Linked DNA regions of Homo sapiens: regions 1, 2, 4 and 5 are each linked to region 3. The links are contacts of gene promoters, found by promoter capture Hi-C in blood cells and fetal thymus (Javierre and others, 2016). All regions are on one chromosome and are shown on one strand. Each heading gives the region's core, a stretch centred on a gene start or on the middle of the fragment in contact. The rest is flanking DNA. Distances are from core to core; before and after follow the strand shown.

Evidence for each region. Contacts are between HindIII fragments. The CHiCAGO score rates a contact against its expected background, and 5 or more counts as called.
Region 1: a fragment that was not itself captured here is called in contact with the fragment with the promoter of PLEKHG3 in region 3 in 1 of 17 cell types (neutrophils); the score reaches 6.1 in neutrophils.
Region 2: a contact is called between a fragment that was not itself captured here and the fragment with the promoter of PLEKHG3 in region 3, in 1 of 17 cell types (neutrophils). The highest score is 6.0, in neutrophils.
Region 4: a contact is called between a fragment that was not itself captured here and the fragment with the promoter of PLEKHG3 in region 3, in 2 of 17 cell types (neutrophils and erythroblasts). The highest score is 7.3, in neutrophils.
Region 5: a fragment that was not itself captured here is called in contact with the fragment with the promoter of PLEKHG3 in region 3 in 1 of 17 cell types (neutrophils); the score reaches 6.8 in neutrophils.

Annotation. Positions count from the first base shown.
Region 1 is chr14:65,019,622-65,022,393 of GRCh38, forward strand. All of the region lies in intron 6 of CHURC1-FNTB (CHURC1-FNTB readthrough), which reads left to right. The region is part of intron 4 of FNTB (farnesyltransferase, CAAX box, subunit beta); the gene reads left to right. It also overlaps a transcript of MAX not described here. Among named protein-coding and RNA genes, the nearest start is that of MIR4706, 24 kb to the right of the region's middle. RefSeq lists a silencer at 400-449. The HindIII fragment of the contact is 2,514 bases long and covers 44-2,557 here.
Region 2 is chr14:65,085,901-65,088,600 of GRCh38, forward strand. The region is part of intron 3 of MAX (MYC associated factor X); the gene reads right to left. Among named protein-coding and RNA genes, the nearest start is that of MAX-AS1, 2.7 kb to the right of the region's middle. The HindIII fragment of the contact is 7,059 bases long and covers 1-2,700 here.
Region 3 is chr14:64,703,134-64,705,890 of GRCh38, forward strand. It overlaps PLEKHG3 (pleckstrin homology and RhoGEF domain containing G3), which reads left to right and starts at 1,291. Exons shown (of 17, transcript NM_001308147.2): 1 at 1,291-1,571. RefSeq lists an enhancer at 1-71. The HindIII fragment of the contact is 3,721 bases long and covers 1-2,205 here.
Region 4 is chr14:64,976,592-64,979,373 of GRCh38, forward strand. All of the region lies in intron 3 of CHURC1-FNTB (CHURC1-FNTB readthrough), which reads left to right. Among named protein-coding and RNA genes, the nearest start is that of RAB15, 5.6 kb to the left of the region's middle. The HindIII fragment of the contact is 3,747 bases long and covers 1-2,782 here.
Region 5 is chr14:65,051,597-65,054,296 of GRCh38, forward strand. CHURC1-FNTB (CHURC1-FNTB readthrough) reads left to right here. Exons shown (of 14, transcript NM_001202559.1): 12 at 1,642-1,753. It overlaps FNTB (farnesyltransferase, CAAX box, subunit beta), which reads left to right. Exons shown (of 12, transcript NM_002028.4): 10 at 1,642-1,753. It also overlaps a transcript of MAX not described here. Among named protein-coding and RNA genes, the nearest start is that of MIR4706, 8.3 kb to the left of the region's middle. The HindIII fragment of the contact is 3,610 bases long and covers 1-2,700 here.

The DNA.
Region 1 (2,772 bases), core at 51-2,550, 320 kb after region 3:
ACTTGACAGTTAATGAGAGTTTCTGCTTCACAGATGCCTTAAAAGCTTTACCTGTGGTTCTTCTACGCATTGATTTAGTGAACTTTTAAACATTTCTTAGACTTCCCAATAATGTATTTTGCTTTGTGCCTAGGAGGTGGTTACTTCTAGGTGCAGAAAACACTTGTTATGAACAAAGCCTACTGGCTCTGACCCATAAGGAAATAGATTATTTTTAGTAAGATACAGATAAATCTTAAGGACTTCTATATAAATAGAAGATTTTTTTTAGACTAGCTGAAATAGAATATTGCCTTTTTATTTATCTTGCACAGGGAAATGAAATGCTTTGAAATGCGTTCAGTTTTCTTTCTTCATACAAATATATTAAGGTGACCTAGAGTCAAAAAGTCTAGCTCTGCAGTTTTATTATTTTCCTGCCTTCTTTTCCCCTGCATGTAACACACACGCCCCCTACACTTACACAAAGGTTTCTCTTTCCTATTTTGTTCACTGCTGTGCTTCTATTTGTTTAGGGAACAATATGATAAGCTGGGTTCCCTCTAGTGGACAAAATACTTTTGTCAGCTGCTATGACCGCTGACCAAAGCCAGCAAGGCGAGGTTGTTACTGCTGGTATCAGAGGTTTCAAGAATAATGTATTCATAGCCTGGAATGTTTTCTTTATTTTTGGTAGAGACAGTGCCTTGCTGTGTTGCCTGGGCTGGTCTCAATCTCCTGGGCTCAATTGATCCTCCTGCCTTAGCCTCCCAAAACACTGGGATTATAGGCGTGAGCCACCATGCCCAGTCCATAGGTAGGACTTCAGCTTGCCTCTTTTTTTTTTGAGAGTCTCGCTCTGTTGCCCAGACTGGAGTGCAGTGGCACGATCTTGGCTCACTGCAACCTCCACCTCCTGGGTTCAAGCAATTCTCCTGCCTCGGCCTCCCGAGTAGCTGGGACTACAGGCATACAGGCGGGAGCCACCACACCCGGCTAATTTTTGTATTTTTAGTAGAGATTGGGTTTTACCATGTTGGCCAAGTTGGTCTCGAACTCCTGACCTCAGGTGATCCACCTGCCTCAGCCTCCCAAAGTGCTGGGATTACAGGCATGAGCCACCGCGCCCGGCCTTTTTTTTTTTTTTTTGAGACGGAGTTTTGCTCTTGTTGCCAGGCTGTAGTGCAGTGGCATGATCTCAGCTCACTGCAACCTCCACCTCCCGGGTTCAAGTGATTCTCCTGCCTCAGCTTCCCAAGTAGCTAGGATTACAGGGGTGTGCCACCACGCCCAGCTAATTTTTGTATTTTGTAAAGACAGGCTTTCAACATGTTGGCCAGGCTGGTCTTGAACTCCTGACCTCAGGTGATACACCTGTCTTGGCTTCCCAAAGTGTTGGGATTACAGATGTGAGCCACCGCACCCGGCCTAGCTTCCCTCTTTTAAGAGGTTATATGCACACATTTATATGTGTTTATCTAAAATGAATTAATATTTTGGAACTAGACTAAGTACATTTGCTTTGCTTAATGGTTTTGGCACTGAAGGAAGCATCCTCTAATGAGAATCCCATTCTTTGTTACTGAAAGCAGCTTCAGTGAAACAGAGCAAAATAAAATTCACAGGGAGACCATCGCACTGTTAAAGTTATGTTTTTAGCTTCTGTAAGATTTAAAAATTGCCTTTAACTTAAAAACCATTTTAGGACATTTCAGCTTGTAAGATTTTTCCAAAGATAAATTCAAATTTTGCTATTTCAGTGTTTTATCCTTTCCCTTTCAAAAGGTTGTTAGTAGCTTATCCCCGGAATAGCCCCTTAAATATTTTTCCTTTTAATTTTTAAGTCTAGTTTGTATGTTTCCTTACCTTTCAGTGAGGACACCATATCTAGGCCTTTGTCTCCTGGGCATTTTTCCTGGCCAGGTGCTGTTGGCACCTGGTGGGTGCAGGTCAGAGGTGCTGCTAAATATCCTCTACAGGACGGTCCCTGCACCAAAGAATTACTGAGCCCCAGTGTCAACAGTTGAGAAACTCTGCTCTAAAGTAGCCAACTTTTTTTTCCTTTGAGGCAGTCTTGCTGTGTCCCCCAGGCTGGAGGGCACTGGTGCAATCTCAGCTCACTGCAACTTCCACCTTCCGGGTTCAAGCGATTCTCGTGCTTCAGCCTCCCAAGCAGCTGGGACTACGGGCGCATGCCACTATGCCTGGCTAATTTTTGTATTTTTAGTAGAGATGGGGTTTCACCATGTTGGCCAGGCTGGTCTCAAACTCCTGGCCTTAAGTGATCCGCCCACGTCGGCCTCCCAAAGTGCTAGGATTATAGGCGTGAGCCACTGCGCCCGGCCTATAGTAGCCAACTTTCGACCTGACCATTCTTCCAGAACAGCAGCCATCCAGAGACTTGCCGGTGCTTGATGAAGAGTCAAATAACACGTCTGACTCTGTGAGCAGCAGAGGCCACCCGGAATCAACAAGAGATGCTGCCCGTCTTCACCTGTCCATTGTCATATTCTACCTAGGGAAGGAGATTTCCTCTTCACTATATCAAGCTGAAGCTGTTTTAGTTAGTACGAGAACAAGCTTGATGTGATGCCAGCTCATGCATCTTGCATTTACATCCCCTCCTAAGCCGTTCTGCCCATGGATGACTGTTCCTATTTCCAAAGCTGTAATCTTTTTTTCTGTTTTTTTTTTTTTAAACCTGCCCAATTGTGCAGAACATAGCTATAATTTTTATAACTTATCCTAGGCCTTAAGTCTGTCTATGATAGCCTAGTCTAGTGCTGAAGTTTT
Region 2 (2,700 bases), core at 201-2,700, 380 kb after region 3:
GTTTGGCTGTGTCCCTACCCAAATCTCATCTTGAATTTAACTCCCACAATTCCCATGTGTCGGGGGAGGAACCTAGTGAGCAGTAATTGAATCATGGGGGTTGGTCTTTCCCATGTTGTTCTTGTGATAGGGAATAAATTTCGTGAGAGCTGATGGTTTTAAAAACAGCAGTTTCCCTGCACAAGTTCTCTTCGCCTGCTGCCATCCATGTAAAACGTGACTTGCTTCTCCTTGCCTTCCACCATGATTGTGAGGCCTCCCCAGCCATATGTAACTGTAAGTCATTAAACCTCTTTCTTTTGTAAATTGCCCAGTCTCAGGTATGTCTTTATCAGCAGCATGAAAATGGACTAAATGCAGTAAATTGGTACCAGTAGAGTAGGGCACTGCTGAAAAGATACCTGAAAATGTGGAAGCAACTTTGGAACTAGGTAACAGGCAGAGGTTGGAACAATTTGAAGGGCTCAGAAGAAGACAGAAAAATGTGGGAAAGTTTCAAACTTCCTAAGGACTTGTTGAATGGCTTTGCCCAAAATGCTGATAATGATATGGACAATAAAGTCCAGGCTGAGGTGGTCTCAGATGGAGATGAGGAACTTGTTGAGAACTAGAGCAAAGGTGACTCCTGTTACGTTTCAGCAAAGAGATTGGCAGCATTTTGCCCCTACGCTAGAGATAAGTGGAACTTTGAACTTCACAGAGATGATTTAGGGTATCTGGAGGAAGAAATTTCTAAGCAGCAAAGCATTCAAGAGGTGACTTGGGTGCTGTAAAAGGCATTCAGTTTTATAAGAGAAGCAGAGCATAAAAGTTCAGAAAATTTGTAGCCTGACAATGTGATAGAAAAGAAAATCCCATTTTCTGAGAAGAAATTCAAGCCAGCTGCAGAGATTTGCATAAGTAATGAGAAGCCGAATGTTAATCCCCAAGACAATGGGGAAAATGTCTCCAGGGCATGTCAGAGATCTTCACAGCAGCTGTTCCCATCACAGACCCAGAGGCCTAGGAGGAAAAACTGGTCTTGTGGGCTGGGCCCAGGGTCCACAGGTTGTATGCAGCCTAGGGACTTGGTGCCCTGCATCCCGGCCACTCCAGTCGTGGCTGAAAGGGCCCAATGCAGAGCTCAGGTTGCGGCTTCAGAGGGTGCCAGCCCCAAGCCTTGGCAGCTTCCTCATGGTATTGAGCCTGGGAGTGAACAGAAGTCAAGAATTGGGGTTTGGGAACCTCTGCCTAGATTTCAGAGGATGGAGTATGGAAACACCTGTATGTCCAGGGAGAAGTTTGCTGAAGGGACAGGGCCCTCATGGAGGACCTCTGCTACGGCAGTGCAGACAGGAAATGTGGGGTCAGAGCCCCCACACAGTCTCTACTGGGGCCCTCTCTAGTGGAGCTGTGAGAAGAGTGCCACCATCCTGCAGACCCCAGAATGGTAGATCCACTGACTGACATCTTGCACTGTGCACCTGGAAAAGCTGCAGACACTCAATGCCAGCCTGTGAAAGCAGCCAGGAAGGAGGCTGTACCTTGCAAAGCCACAAGGGTAGAGCTATGCAAGACCAAAGGAACCCACCTTTTGTATCAGCATGACCTCTATGTGAGACATGGAGTCAAAGGAGATCATTACAGGGCTTTTAGATTTGACTGCCCTGCTGGATTTTGGACTTGCATGAGGCCTGTAGCCCCTTTTTTTGACCGATTTCTCCCATTTGGAATGGCTGTGTTTATCCAATGCCTGTACCCCCACTCTATCTAGGAAGTAACTAACTTGCTTTTGATTTTACAGGCTCATAGGCAGAAAGGACTTGTCTTGTCCCAGATGAGACTTTGCACTGTGGACTTCTGAGTTAATGCTGAAATGAGTTAAGACAAGGCACGATTGGTTTTGAAATGTGAGGACATGAGATTTGGGAGGGGCCAGGAGCAGAATAATATAGTTTGGCTGTGTCTCCACCCAAATCTCATCTTGAATTGTAATTCCCATGTGTTGTGGCAGGAACTCGGTGGGAGGTAATTGAATCACGGGGACAGGTCTTTCCCATGCTGTTCTCGTGATAGTGAATAAGTCTTGCAAGATCTGATGGTTTTAAAAACAGGAGTTTCCCTGCACAAGCTCTCTCTCTTTGCCTGCTGCCATCCATGTAAGACATGACTTGCTCCTCCTTGCCTTCGCCATGATTGTGAGGCTTCCTTCCAGCCACGTGGAACTGTAAGTCCACTAAACCTCCTTCTTTTGTAAATTGCCCAGTCTCAGGTATGTCTTTATCAGCAGCACGAAAACGGACTAATACAAGGGTGTATAGTAACTGGAAGGTTAATGTCAGGAAGGAGGCGAAAAAGCAGGTAGGTAAGCTGGGTATCTTATTTACAGAACATGGAATACCAGTCCTTACCTAAATGGGCAATGAAAAGCCCTTGGAGGTTTTCAGCAGCATGCAAATAATTTATAAGAAATTAAATGCATTTACAATTGCTGAGCCTGGAGCCTAAGGGAGACTTGGGCAACTATGGGCAACAATTTAAGATGTAGAAACTTTAAAAAGATAATTGCCCAAGTTGGAGTCTGACTAGCTAATATAACCTTAATGAGTAATGAGGAGAAGTGGATAGGGCTATAGTTTACATTTCATTTAAACGACAATCCCTCTAGCAGCTCAGATATGCTATAGACATAGGTTACCGAATGAACTGTCAGCCTTAAAC
Region 3 (2,757 bases), core at 41-2,540:
TCACCTTCACGGTCCGCGAGTCTGGGGCTCTGCAAGCCTCCAACACACCCTCCCTCCCTAAGGAATGTGGGCCCCGCTTTCTGGGCCTGCCAGACCGAGCGCCTACCGCTTCCTCCGCAGGCAGGAGCCGGGACGCTGCCTTCACCCCACCCTCCGCCAGGATCCAGTTTCAAAGTCACCTGAAAGCCATTTCCTTCCGCGCCTGCCCCGCCTCTCCCCTCCCAGTAGATCACCTGGAGCTTGCATTTGCCCAGAGCAGCATTTTGGGGCGGGCGCTTGTTTTGTTTTAAATGATACCTCTAGAAATCGTTTGCTGTACACCTGGATAACAAATATACCCCGTGGTTCTAATATCAGCGTCCTATTCCTCCTCCCAAGGAACTAGTGATAGCGCCTAACCAGTGGGCGTTGTTCCTCTTCCGGAGCCCCACTCTGGGCTTCCCTCCTCCGGGCTTGTTGTTCTTCAGGATCTTTACTGATGAATTATTATGGGTTTTTGGATTTATGCTCTTGCTCAAAATGTATTGAATGTCTCTGTCCCCCATCCTCACCCCTTGCCCCCCAGTTTCCAGGTGTGTACCTTTCCATGCATACACGGTCATATACAGAGACATAAAGACAAACGGTTCTCTTTGTTTTATAAAAACGGGTCCTCTATCATCCAGGTTTCTGTGTTTTATTTTTCCTATTTAACAGTTCCTTGTGGAGTTGCCTTCACGTTGTCTCCTTTATCTCTTTCCCGTCAGCTTCTCAGAGGTCTGCATTTACCACTGTAAAGCGTCACAGGGACCGAGTTATGGTGAGGAATTCAAGACATGCCTTTCTGACTTGGAAAAGCGGACACGGCCGGCTCTGGTAGGATTAGGATCCCCAGATCGATCCCGGCTGGTCACTCACTTGGGAAAGCCCTCAGCCCCCTTCGCAGGGCCCGGTGTTCCCTGTCCATACAAGGGGTACGTTCTGGCAGTCCATGCTGTCTCGGGAGGCGGTGATAGCAGGTCTGTGACACCAGGGTGACCCCACCACGTGCGTCTTGGTATCCTAGAGCATCTAGGCTGCCCGGGGGTGCGCGCTCATCACCCTGCGGGCGTTAATCGTTAACCGCGCCCAGGCCTCGCCGCCGCCGCAGCCTTACCCCGGCTCTGGCTCGCCGCGCCGCGAAGGTTGCCCCGGCCCCCGCAGAGCCGCCAATTGCTGGACTGCAGCCGCGAGCTGGAGTCTCCACCCACAGGAAAAATTCCTGGCCCGCCCCTCCCTCGCTCCCTCGCTCCCTCGCTCCCTCGCTCCCTCGCTCCCTCGCTCCCTCGCTCCCTCCTGCCCTCCCGCTGCAGCTCCGGCTCCGCTCGACTTCCTGCCGGGCGCTGGCAAGCCGCGCGCTGCCTGGGGTCTCCGGGGGCCGCGCTTGCAGCTGGCCGAGTCCGGGCCAGCTGAGGGGCTGGCGGTGGGCGGGAGCGGTCGGCGGCCTCAGCCCCTTCAGAGAGCGACTTTCAAACTCGCGCCCGCGTCGCGGCAGCACCTGGGCAGCCCCGCACGCCGTGCGCGTCCCGAGCCCGCGGGGCAGCTACCGCTCGGTGAGTGTCCCCTGATTCTCCTCTCTCCCCTCTTATCTCCCTGCATTAGGCTGAGCGGCGGTGCCGGCAGTCACGCTGGGGCCCCAGTCCCTTCGCGGCCCCCGTGCCAGCCCCCTGCGGGGTGAGGACCGGGGCGACCGAGGAGGGCCTGGAACTGTGTTGGCTGCTTCCCGGGCCACCCTGCCGCAGAGTGCGCGAGCGCAGGAGGGTCGTATGGGGAGACTTTTTCTGTCTTTTTTTCCCTCCACTCCGGAAACAAAAGGGGCAAATGCGCCGGGCGGCTCCAGAGAGGCTCAGTTTGAAATCCAGGAAGCCCGCGAGGCCGCGCGCGCCCGAGGGCTGGTGTTTGGCTGGAGCTGTGGGCCTGGCGGGTGGACCCTTCTGCGCGAGGACCCGAGCCTCGGCTCCTGCCAGCCCCGGAGGCGCCTGCAGCCTGTTCCGGGTTGGCGCCGCACGGTGCTCGCTGTTGGGAATCTCGGCTACCTGTCCGGCAGGGAGGAGAGTGGGGGCCAGAAGCGGGGAGCGGAAAGCCCGGCCACCAGCTGCCTCGACCTCGTCCACTCCTGAAGTCGGTTTGGTTCTTCGCACCCCTACACCCAGCCCTTTGGTTTGGAAAGCCAGTATAAGGCGTGCAAGCTTAAATTTTTAAGGCGTTAAATAGCTACTTTGACTCTTCGGGGCGCCTTTGGAACACAAAAGGAAGAACGGAGGGGAGAATGGAATGGTTGGAGGCTGGAGAGGTGTGGCTTTTGGGGAGGGTGTTGTTAGAGGCCGCGAAAGAGTTTGATCCTCGAGGTCACTCGCTAATCTGTTGGCATATGTAGGTGCCTGTCCCCTGCTCTGGGGGCCCCAGCAGGAGACCCACACTGCGTTCACCTTACGGGGAACCCTGGAGTGGGGGTTCCCAGAGTCTCCCCAGCCGTGCCTCTGCACGCAGCCCAGTCACATGGCCCTTGCTCAAGAAATAATAAGCAGGGAGGGCAATGACAGTCCGGAGCGGGGGAGGGCCTCCCCGTTGAGCACATCGGCCACCTCGCCTTCAGCAGTGTGGTTTTCCGGGCCATCCTTTGTTGGACAAGGATGGGATCCTGAGTGATTAAACCCCAGCTGTTCCCCAGGAGGAAACTAGGGAGTGAGAACCAAAAGTGTACATTTATCTCTCTGTTATACATCTCTCCCCTGTGGT
Region 4 (2,782 bases), core at 103-2,602, 270 kb after region 3:
CCTAAATTCCATCCCCTTACCTCAGTCACTCAGTGGAACATTTTGGCATCCTCCCCATTTGTGGTCAACTTGGACTGGGGCACATTTCAGTAGAACTGGGAGACATCTGAGGAATGGTTGCTGAACATCTTTTCCACTAGAATCCTCCTAGAATCAGTCTCTCAATTATGTGATACTGATTCTTCAACCAGGGAGACAAGTGCCTGCCCCCATCCACCCCATCCCCACCCCAGCCACACTGAGCATGCACCCAAAGGCACCACTGTGGGACCTGCCATAGCAACAGCTGAACAGCTGGAGAGTTGCACCAATAGGCAGTCCATCACCAAGACTCAACGCGGCTGGACCATGGGGCTCCCCGTTAGTGAAACACCCGCCTCTTCTAGACTTACCCTGTGTTTCCTACTCTGGGGGACTGTTAGTGATGTGCCCGCGGTGCAGAAGGATTTCCTCCTTACCTCGTGATTGAAAGAAACAGGACACATCCCCTCTACCACGGTCTCAGTACTGTCCTCCATTCACATGCTTTTTCTTTGTTTTCCCCTGACTAAATAGAGAATGGAGGAAAGATACTCAAATGACAAGGAAAGAGGGGAGGAGGCAAATTATCAGAGACACGTGCATTTGAGGGCTGGGAACCACAGGAAACAATTCTGATGGTAATTGATGTTGACACAAAATGACCCACAGTACCATTTCAGGTTGTCCTTAGTGTCCTGGCCACCACCTTCATGACTGCATCAGTTTTCTAGGGATGCCATAACAAAGTACCAGAGACTGGGTGGCTTAAACAACAGGAATTTGGCTGGGCGTGGTGGCTCACGCCTGTAATCCCAGCACTTAGGGAGCCCAAGGCGGGCAGGTCATGAGGTCAAGAGTTCGAGACCAGCCTGGCCAACATGGTGAAACCCCGTCTCTACTAAAAATACAAAAATTAGCCAGGCATGGTGGCCCATGCCTGTAATCCCAGCTACTTGGAAGGATGAGACAGGAGAATCGCTTGAGCCCAGGAGGCGGAGGTTGCAGTGAGCCAAGATCACGCCATTGCACTCCAGCCTGGGCAACAGAACAAGACTCCGTCTTAAAACAAACAAACAAACAAAAACACACACAAAAACACCAGGAATTTATTTCCCACAATTGTGGCAGTCAGAAGTATGAGATGAAGGTGTCAGCAGGGTTGGTTTCTCATGAGGGATCTCCTTGGCTGTAGATGGCTGTCTTCACGTTCACATGGTGTTCCACCTGTGCCTATCAATGTCCTAATCTCTTTTTTTTTTTTTTTGAGACGGAGTCTCACTCTGTCACCCAGGCTGGAGTGCAGTGGTGCGATCTCAGCTCACTGCAAGTTCCGCCTCTCGGGTTCACACCATTCTCCTGCCTCAGCCTCCTGAGTAGCTGGAACTACAGGCGTCCGCCACCATGTCCGGCTAATTTTTTTGTATTTTTAGTAGAGACGGGGTTTCACCCTGTTAGCCAGGATGGTCTCGATCTCCTGACCTTGTGATCCGCCCGCCTCAGCCTCCCAAAGTGCTGGGATTACAGGCGTGAGCCACCGCGCCCGGCCGACATTGTTCTTTATAAGATCTGCCTTGCAGGAAGGATCAGAGAGAGTGCCTGCCAACCAAAGACAAAGAGACGCCATACCCCAGGTCTCTCACATATCAGGACTTATAGGGTCTCCTTTTTTACCTAACTATACACTTAAGACCCCTCTAAGACTGCCTTGTAGACAGCAGGGGAAGAAGGGCTCTGTCAACAGGACAGGGGAGAGTTGACCCTGTAGTTCTAAATTAGCAGACTTGAAAAAGATTGTTTGAAAGGAGTAGTAATAATATACATTGGAAAGATGTCACTAAATCTGTCCAGAAAATTATTTTGAATCTACAAAGGGATACCGTTTGTCCAGTGGAGTGAAACACTGAAAGAGACCTCTTTGTTAATTGAGGTTTTTAACTTCTAGAACATGTGGCATGACGTTCTTTTGATTATGGAGTGTAGGGGTGGGTTGCCCCTACACACCTGTGGGTGTTTCTCGTAAGGTGGGACGAGAGATTTGGAAAAGAAAAAGACACAGAGACAAAGTATAGAGAAAGAAATAAGGGGACCCGGGGAACCAGCGTTCAGCATATGGAGGATCCCGCCAGCCTCTGAGTTCCCTTAGTATTTATTGATCATCTGTGGGTGTTTCTCGAAGAGGGGGATGTGTCAGGGTCACAAGACAATTGTGGGGAGAGGGTCAGCAGACAAACACGTGAACAAAGGTCTTTGCATCATAGACAATGTAAAGGATTAAGTGCTGTGCTTTTAGATATGCATACACATAAATATCTCAATGCTTTACAAAGCAGTATTGCTGCCCGCAGGTCCCACCTCCAGCCCTAAGGCGGTTTTTCCCTATCTCAGTAGATGGAGCATACAATCGGGTTTTATACCGAGACATTCCATTGCCCAGGGACAGGCAGGAGACAGATGCCTTCCTCTTGTCTCAACTGCAAGAGGCATTCCTTCCTCTTTTACTAATCCTCCTCAGCACAGACCCTTTACGGGTGTCGGGCTGGGGGACGGTCAGGTCTTTCCCTTCCCACGAGGCCATATTTCAGACTATCACATGGGGAGAAACCTTGGACAATACCTGGCTTTCCTATGCAGAGGTCCCTGCGGCCTTCCGCAGTGTTTGTGTCCCTGGGTACTTGAGATTAGGGAGTGGTGATGACTCTTAAGGAGCATGCTGCCTTCAAGCATCTGTTTAACAAAGCACATCTTGCACCACCCTTAATCC
Region 5 (2,700 bases), core at 146-2,645, 350 kb after region 3:
TGAGACTCTGTCTCAAAAAAGAAAAAAAAAAAGGAAATATTCAACAGTTTAATATTTTGCTTCAATCTCTTTATAGACTGTATCATAAACTTTTCATTTTTATTTTTAGAAATCTTTTCCCCCGTTTTTCTTTTTTGCTATTTTCTCCAAAATGGGAAAGGTTATTGATACCATAAACTTTTATAATTTTCACCATAGGAATTTTTTTTTTTTTTTGAGATGGAGTCTCGCTGTGTCGCCCAGGCTGGAGTGCAGTGGTGTGATCTCAGCTCACTGCAAACTCCGCCTCCTGGGTTCACGCCATTCTCCTGCCTCAGCCTCCTGAGTAGCTGGGACTACAGGCGCCCACCACCATGTCCGGCTAATTTTTTTGTATTTTTAGTAGAGACAGGGTTTCACCGTGTTAGCCGGGATGGTCTCGATCTCCTGACCTCGTGATCAACCCCCCTCAGCCTCCCAAAGTGCTGGGATTACAGGCATAAGCCATCGTGCCTGGCCCACCATAGGAATTTATATACTGACATATATATAAGATTTTTAGCTCAGTTCTTTTTATGATACAGTTACCTTATATGTCCACTTAATGAAATACTATATGGCTATTCACAGTGATGGCTATGCAGATTATGTAATAGAATAGAAAATTTATGCCTATAGTGGTATAAGTGAAAAACATAAGCTACACAGTTATAATAACTAGGTAGAAAAACGCATAGAACCAAAAAGACTGGAAGAAAGAACAATTAGCTTTCAGGTGCCATTTACCAATTGTTGGGCATCTTTTTTTTAAAAATGATTTATTGTCAGGCATCTTTTAGCCCAGGTATCAAAATATAAAATTGACCAAGGACTTAGTGTACATCCTATATGTATATATATTTTTAATCGATTTCTATGCAGATGTTTCTGCACACCTGTCCGTGATTTGTCCCTCCTTCCCACTTGATAACTGTGTGGCCCACAGAATTCTTTGACCATAGTGATTGGACTTCAGAGTGAAGAAGTCCAGTTGCTTGTCAGTACCTTAGTAGTATTACCAGAATACCCAGTTTTTGCTAGGGTATCATATGATGCAGGAGGGCAGTTACTAGTAATGTTTCTTAGGTAAATTCTTTGAGCTGAGAGACAAGTTAGAGAATTCCCTTTGGAGATCAATTAAATTTAGGCTTAGAAAAGTAGAAGAAACAGACTTTATTACCCATTAAGAGTTCTCTGAGCTAATCAGTCTGGTTAACAAGTTATAGAGATATGCTAGAGGGAATGTCTCTTGAAGTCCAGGGTAGAGTTATGGACCAAGTTGGGAGCAGCTACCGAGGTCAGTCTGGGAAGGTAAGCTAAACAGCTAGGCTGGTTCACTGCCTGCCAGAGATGTGGTTGAGGATCACCATCCACGTTAACAGGGTGCATTTCAAGAAAGTGAAAGTGCCACTTTGAATTGCTGCTCTTTGACACATGTCAAAGTTCAGGAGAAGGGACATGCTGTGCGTAGGACATGGGGAAGATAGCAGTTGTACCAAGAATGAATGGAAGAGGAAGGGGAGCAGGAAACCTTGACTATTCCCCCAGGTGAGAAAGTGGAATTAGGTCATTGATACTTGGCTGGATCTGCCGGGCCCTTACTGACCCTTTGCCCTTCAACAGGTGACCCTGCCCTTAGCATGAGCCACTGGATGTTCCATCAGCAGGCCCTGCAGGAGTACATCCTGATGTGCTGCCAGTGCCCTGCGGGGGGGCTTCTGGATAAACCTGGCAAGTGAGTGTTTTCTCTCTGGGGAGGGAAGGGAGAGGGGAGGAGAGAGCAGAGGGGCGTGCACCTCAGGCCTACTCAGAGCCAGATCTCAAGAGCAGAGGTGTCACCTTCAGCACCTGCATAGCGCTAGGTTGTATGGGAAAAAGCACCCAGTTGGGAGCACCCCTTGAGGCCATTGATCTTGGCACCTCCAGCTGCCCGTCTTGTCCCCCAGCCTGCATGCAACCCCCTCCCCCAGACAGGGAAACAGATTGCTGGGTAGATAACTCTTCTTTTTTTTAAAAAAAACAAAAAAAAACTGATCTAAATAGAATAGGATACAGGATTTTAAAACCCCTCAGTGTTGTAAACAGAGACTGTAATCATGACAACTATTATAGAGTGGATTAAATGATTAAGCTCAAATCTGAGATGGCTTATGTGTTAGAAAAAGGGAAATAAAATAAGTCCTCTCACCTTTGTTACCCACCCTCTGTCTTCCCCCATCCCAGCACACGTCCTGCTGCTCTTGGCATCCAGGGGAAGGCCTGGTCCCACAATGTATCAGGAAGGATGTGGCCCATTTCTAGATATTTAGGTATTTTTCTAGAGAAGTGTATCAATTTATCATTAGTACTGCCCCTGGAGAGCCCTTTCCAGAAGACAGCTGGAGAGACTGACTTTAAAATTACAGTTTCCTTTAATAGTTTAAGGTAAAAAAAGAAAGAAAAGAAAAAAAATACAGTTCCCACTGCTGGGCAGGGCTGGAGGATGGGGCTTTTATTTTATTGTATTTTACTTTTTTGAGACAGGGTCTCACTCTGTCACCCAGGCTGGAGTGCAGTGTCACAATCATGACTCACTGCAGCCTTCACCTCTTGGGCTCGAGTGATCCTCCTGCTTCAGCCTCCCAAGTAACTGGAATTACAGGCATCGGCCACCACACCTAGCTAATTTTTAATTTTTTGTAG